Linked DNA regions of Homo sapiens: region 2 is linked to region 1. The links are contacts of gene promoters, found by promoter capture Hi-C in human tissues and cell types (Jung and others, 2019). All regions are on one chromosome and are shown on one strand. The core of a region is centred on a gene start or on the middle of the fragment in contact, and the rest is flanking DNA. Distances in the headings are between cores, read along the strand shown.

Region 1 (3,291 bases), core at 338-2,837:
AGGGCTCTTGCTGGAATGTTCTGCCAATGGTCTCTCCCATCCCTTCCAACAGAGGTGCAGACACTGTGTCCAGCCTGGGCCCCAAGGCTCACTTTGCTCTTTAGTATAGGGGGGTCCTCTCTGCCCCCTTCTCACCACCTCGTCCCCATCCCACTCTCAGACCCCTCTCTCGGGAGAAGGGGCCATGTCTAGTGAGAAGTACCCCCAACCCTCAGGGCTGGGCAGCAACCACATGGAGAGGCAGAGGTGGGTGGTGAAGGACAGAGTCAGCCTGGCCCTGCCTTTCCCCACTTAAAATGCTCAGGGGCTCCGCTGTCCCCGGGGTCAGGTCCAGCCTCGCCTCCTTGCCCTGCTTGGCTCTCTGGCCTCCGCTCCTGCACCCTCTCTGAGCTGTAGACACATGGAACCTCTTTCAGTTCCAGAGTTTCAGCTCCTCTCTCAGCTCTGGGCACACTGTTTCCTCTGCCTCCTCAGTCCTTACCTCCTCTCCTAGCTCCCACCCGCTGGTCCTTCGGGTATTAGCTGAGTGTTACTTCCTCCGGGAAGCCTTCCCTGACCACCGGTCACCAGCCTGGGTGAGGGTGCTGCTTCTGTAGCTTGCATGCTGCACCCCCACCTTCTGTCTCACATACCTGTCCTGCTTGTTCCACGCCTGCCCAACAGATGCAGGCTCCTTGGGGCTGGGGCTGGGTTGTGCTCAGCTCTGTGTTTCTACCCCTATCCTTGGGACACAGTAGATCATAATAAATGGTCGCTGAATACAGGAGTGAAAAGGATGAGAAAAGACCAGACAGAAGAGAGGCGAGGGGCTCCCGGGGTTCCCGCCCATGAATAGATCTAAAAGAAGCCAACAGTGTCCCCCATCACTCTGGGGCCCAGGGAGCTACTGGCTGCCTGGTTTCTCCCAGTCACCCTGGGTGCCCCAGGCTCCATACCCGGCCCCCACCCTGTGCTCAAGGAAATCAACCTGCAGGAGAGGGAGAGAGAGAGAAGGAGGGGGTCCTGGGTCTCCCTGAGCTCAGGGATGTGGTCCTCACTTCTGCCTCCCCAGGCAGAGGGCTCTGTGCCCTGCCCGGGGAACTGGCATGTTGGCAAGCACAAGGAGACACAGGCATGGAAGAACAGGGGACCCTGATTTTCCAGAAATCACAATGGCCAGTCAGTCCCAGGCAGATGACTACCTGTGAAAAGGCTCGTCGCCCCAGCCCCTGCTAGAACTTTTCCCACCCATCCTCCCAGCCCTGTCCTATCCCCGGCCACCTCCAGAGCATGGGCTGGTCCAGCTCTCAGAGCTGGCGTCCCTCTGAGACAGCGGCTTCCCTACCTCGGAAAGTCACTTTGGCGATCCGGTCGCCCCTGCCCCGCAGCTCCGAGACTGTCTTGAGGTGGATGAGCAAGGCCATGCTGGTGTGGGCTGCCTGGCACTGCCAGGCAGGAGCAGCGGGAAGGAGCTAGCCGGTGGAGCACGGCTCACACGCCTCTCTCTTCTCTGCCGCTGCCTCCTCCTCCTCCTCCCGACCCCCCTCCGATGCTGCCCACAGAGACCAAGGCAACCAAGCCGAGCTAAGCTGCTCCTGCAGCGACTCACAGAGCCTCACAGCCCCCGCCCCTCCAAGTTGTCAGCCCAGCGTGTGTGTATCGGTGTGTGCGTGTGTGTGTGTGTGTGTGTGCACCCAATGTGCAGCCTGGGAGTGCGGCAGAGTTGGAATTCATTATTCAGCAGCCGCCGGCTCCCAGATAAAGCTCTGTCCAGCTTCAGGTGTCTTCTCCCAGCTCCTGGAAGGGAGGCTCTGCCCACCCCTCTGCAGGGCTCTGCTGCTTCCCTGCTAAGCAAGCCCTGCCACCAGTAGTGGGCACAGAGGAGTGGGCATGAGCATAGGTAGGGTGGATGTGGGGCGGGGGGCACTCCCACCCACAGGGGCACACTACAAGAAGAAGGGAATGTATTTGTCCACCTACGCCCACCTCTTCCCTGCTGGAGACTGTGCCCCCAAGAGGCTGGGCCCTGAGCCCTGCCCTGGGATCCCTGTTTCTGAATCTCAGGAAGCAGAGAGGCTGGGGCTGCTGCCTGAGGGGAGGCTCAGGACCAGGCCATGCATGATGGAGATGGCTGGTTGTGGAGGCAGCAGAGGCTTATGTGCTACCAGGGGCCATGTTTAAGGATCCAGGGCACTAACCTAGCCCCACCCCAAGGCTGGGGGTCAGGCAGGCTAGCGAAGGTAAGCCAGGCTGATGTTTGCTTTCCAGCCAGAGGAGCAGAATTGAATGGCCTTCTGCTGTTATAAGCTGCTAGGGGCAGGAGAAGGGATGTCTATAGGGAAATTTCTAAGGACCAAAAGAGAACTGCCCCCTCCTGTCTTCCAGCAGCATACACCAAGGAAAGGGACGCTGGGGGCCAGAATCCCTGATGCTGGAATCTGTGCAGGGTCATCTGCAGCCTTGTTCTTGCTATTCATTCTTGGTGGAATGCCCTCCACCCCACCCTGGACTCAGCTTGAGTGCCTGCTCCTGGAGGTGCCTCTGTACCCGCACCCCAGCTGGGTTGGGGTCCTCCTCTGTGCTGCTCCTGCCTCCTCTCATCTTACTGAGTCCTGGGGCTGCTTCCCTTGCCTTTTCCCCTCCTGACCTCAGGAGGGCCCTGGAGCACAGCATCCCTCTACCCCAGAGCCCCACATGGTATCCTGTGCACCGTAGGATGCCCAATTACTGTTGAAAGGATAAAAGAGTGAGCTCAGGGATCTACCTGAAACAGAGTCTAAAGGTTAAAAAGAGAAATACTAATTTTTCACAGCATGGTAACAAGAGGTTACTTCTTTTGAATTCTGCATTCCAAATAACCTACAGTATGTCCCAAGAGCCTTCTTTCCTCCTTCTAGATATTTCCTTGCTACTGTGCCCTATTTTTCTTTTTCTACTTACGTTTTTTTCCTTTGCACTTTTTCCTAACCAATTCTTGCTTACCTTTCTCACATTTATCTAATCATATTGAATTTAAAAATGTCTTAGAGTATTCTGTTTATTGAATACAAGTATGAATGCTAAATTTTCAAAAGCTAGATAAGTTTAATGTCTTAAAAAAAAAAACACCTAAATTCACTAGCATTTTCCATCCATGAGGTCATCAGGTGATCTGTGTTTTTAAGGCTTGGTGACTACAAGGTACAACAACAACAACAGAAAATATCTTCTTCCTTGGTTCTCTGGAGGTCCTCCCCTGAAAGGAGTGAATTTCATGAGGCCTCTTATAGACCCTGTGCATCTTTAGGAAAAAGCCCATGATCCTGCCCTAGC
Region 2 (3,291 bases), core at 225-2,724, 320 kb before region 1:
AAAAACAAAAAACAAAGCGGATTCTCCTCCAGAAACTTTTTCCAGGCAAAGCAGTAGCCTAAGGGTTTACAGCTGATGAATGCCACCAATGAGTTGGACAGTGTCTCAATAACTTTAGAATATCTATACCTCAAGTCCTCCTCCCAGGCAGGATCCATTGATGGCAGCCACAATAGGCTTTGTGGACTTTTCAAGTTTCTCAACTATTCTCTGTGCTTCTTGTGATAGCTGTGTTACTTCTTGAAGGGTCTTGCAAGCGGCTAACATGCTGCATTATCCATAAAAGTAGAGAACAGAGAAAAAGATAAAACTATAATTTATTTGGTTCAATACTTATTCACTATACACTTATCCTATCATGCATCAATATTTGATGACAAATCTTCAAATAGAAGGTTAAGAATGATTTTGCTTCAAATAGCACAATAGCAGCAACATCATTTCTCCATAAAGAGTGTTAAACTTCTGGATCCATGAGACCATCCCGGCTAACACGGTGAAACCCCGTCTCTACTAAAAATACAAAAAATTAGCTGGGCATAGTGGCGGGCGCCTGTAGTCCCAGCTACTTGGGAGGCTGAGGCAGGAGAACAGTGTGAAACCGGGAGGTGGAGCTTGCAGTGAGCCGAGATCGCGCCACTGCACTCCAGCCTGGGCGACAGAGTGAGACTCTGTCTCAAAAAAAAAAAAAAAAATTCTGGATCCAGAAAACATAAATGTGTTGCATAATTTATTTTTACTTCTGTAATAAATCATTAAATTACAAAGCTTGGTACAAGGGAAAATCATCTTTGGTAAATTACTTCACTATCAGATTAAACATTTCACTATCAGGTAGTTAACAGCAATAAAAATGACGCAAAAGAAAAGCTTCCAGGTTGTTTAGAGAAATCTAAAACATTTTAACAGATCCCACTAATGAATAAAAATGACCAGGTAGGCCAGGCATGGTGGCTCATGCCTGTAATCCCAGCACTTTGAGAGGCCAAGGCAGGTGGATCACCTGAGGTCAGGAGTTCGAGACCAGGCTGGTCAACATGGTGAAACCGCGTCTCTACTAAAAATACAAAAATTAGCTGGGCGTGGTGCTGCATTCCTGTAGTCCTGGCTACTCGGGAGGCTGAGGCGAGAGAATCACTGGAACCTGGGAGGTGGAGGTTGCAGTGGGCCGAGATCGCACCACTGTACTCCAGCCTGGACAGCAGAGGGAGACTCCGTCTCAAAAATAAATAAGTAAATAAAAATGATCAGGTGCAATGATGTTCCACTCAATGTCCTTTAATTTCAGTTTGTTTCATTTGCTATTTTGTGAACACACTTAGGATATGGATTTTGTACTTTTGACCAAGGATAACTAGTATATTCTGTAATTTTATACACTGAGAGTTGCTCAGCTGGCCTCATAGAAGCTACATGTATTTTCCTCTGGATATAGGTAGCTACTGCCAGGTACATCAGTGTCTTGTTAGACTTTATAAATGTTCTGTTTAATGTTAATTTTTTAGAAGACCCAAAATTATCTTATCAAGTGGTTTTTCTTCTAGCTGAATTATTTGTGCCTAACAAGAGACTGATTACTACACATAAATAATTACACTTTCAGTACAAATTACTAAACCTACAATGCTGGCTATCATTGTCTAAAATACAAAGAACATAACAAATACCCATATTTTAATGGAATTGACAACTTAACATTTTAACCTATTAAACTGACACTAAAATATCATTTCCCCTCCTTATGTATGTGTAAACAATTGTAAATAAGTTAATGTAGGCATGCATTCCACCATTTAGCAGAGGAAAAGAAAATACTAGCTGCATCTGTAAAGCTGCCTTTAACAATCAAGTCCTACCACCCACTTCATTTCCCCAAAGCAGCCATCTTCATGTTTGTAGTGTCTCCTTCCAGACCAACTACGATTGTGTCCATAAATAGTATCAAGAATTATTCCATGTTTGGTTTTAAAACATTTATAGAAACTATATACTGTATGAAACATTCTGCAATTTGCTTTTCTTTTAACTTAACCTTATGTTTTTGAGTTCTAACATCATATTGTGGATCTAGTTAATTCCTTTTACCTGTTTTGTAGTATTCTATTGTGTGAATAGTCCACATTTTACTTACCCATTTTCCTACTGACTGACATTTGGTTTTAAATTCTTCATTATTTCACACTACACAGGACCAAACATCCTTGTACACTGGTTCTTATAAACAAGGGGTGAGATTTCTCTAGATCACATGATGTGTGTGTGTGTGTGTGTGTATATATATATATATATACTCTGTGTGTGTGTGTGTGTGTGTGTGTGTGTGTGTGTGTGTGTATATACTTTTTTTTTTTAAGACAGTCTCACTCTGTCACCCAGGCTGGAGTGCAGTGGTGTGATCTCGGCTCACTGCAACCTCTGCCTCCCAGGTTCAAGGGATTTTCGTGCCACAGCCTCCTGAGTAGCTGAGATTACAAGCGTGTGCCACCATGCCTAATTTTTGTATTTTTAGTGGAGACAGGGTTTCACCATGTTGGCCAGGCTGGTCTTGAGCTCTTGGCCTCATGTGATCCACCTGCCTCGGCCTCCCAAAGTGCTGGGATTACAGGCAAGAACCACCACACCCAGCCTGATACGTACATTTTCAATTTTACAGGCCTGTGTCACTGTGCCCAGCACTTCTACTTTCTTTTAAAAGGAGAAATTATTAGGCCTAAGAAACACACTATTAACCAAGATAAAAGGTGACTTCAAGTTTCCTAAAACTTACTTGATATCAGCACCTGCAATAAAGCAGCCTGGCTTTGATGAGATAAGGACGGCACTTCTGATTTGATCACTAGCCCAGATTTCATTCATAACTTCTGAGAACTCTGAATGTAGCTCTTTACTCAGTGTATTTACCTGCCAAAGGGAAATATATACAGGTAAGGGTTTAAATTTGAAGCACTGGATGTACGTACCACCATCAAATGCTATTTTGATTATAAGAAATATACTTATCCGGCAGAAATATACTGTTAGAAGAGAGTAAGAAATATCATTCTCCCAGCAAGTCAGTAGCTTTCTATTCAGGCAGCTTTGGCCCACTACAAGCACCCCTTCCTTTAAAAATAGGTCTTCTCAAAGGAGAAACTCAGGGTCATCCTCAGAGTTTGAATCATATGTAGGCTATAAACAAATAGGTCTACAAACATTTATTGGCATGGAAAAAATCTGCATAATGTTAAGAAAAAAATGAAATACAAATAAGACATATAGGCCAGGCATGGTGGCTCATCCCTGTAATCCCTG

The links. Contacts are between HindIII fragments. The study calls those that stand out against the background at their distance.
Region 2: a contact is called between a fragment that was not itself captured here and the fragment with the promoter of OTOF in region 1, in 2 of the 25 tissues and cell types used here (IMR-90 fibroblasts and liver).

What each region holds. Positions count from the first base shown.
Region 1 is chr2:26,557,169-26,560,459 of GRCh38, forward strand. It overlaps OTOF (otoferlin), which reads right to left and starts at 1,588. Exons shown (of 47, transcript NM_194248.3): 1 at 1,325-1,588. The coding sequence starts at 1,403. RefSeq lists enhancers at 949-1,742, 1,743-2,535. The HindIII fragment of the contact is 11,571 bases long and covers 1-3,291 here.
Region 2 is chr2:26,234,088-26,237,378 of GRCh38, forward strand. HADHA (hydroxyacyl-CoA dehydrogenase trifunctional multienzyme complex subunit alpha) reads right to left here. Exons shown (of 20, transcript NM_000182.5): 4 at 2,768-2,901; 5 at 130-268. Among named protein-coding and RNA genes, the nearest start is that of HADHA, 8.9 kb to the right of the region's middle. The HindIII fragment of the contact is 5,257 bases long and covers 1-3,291 here.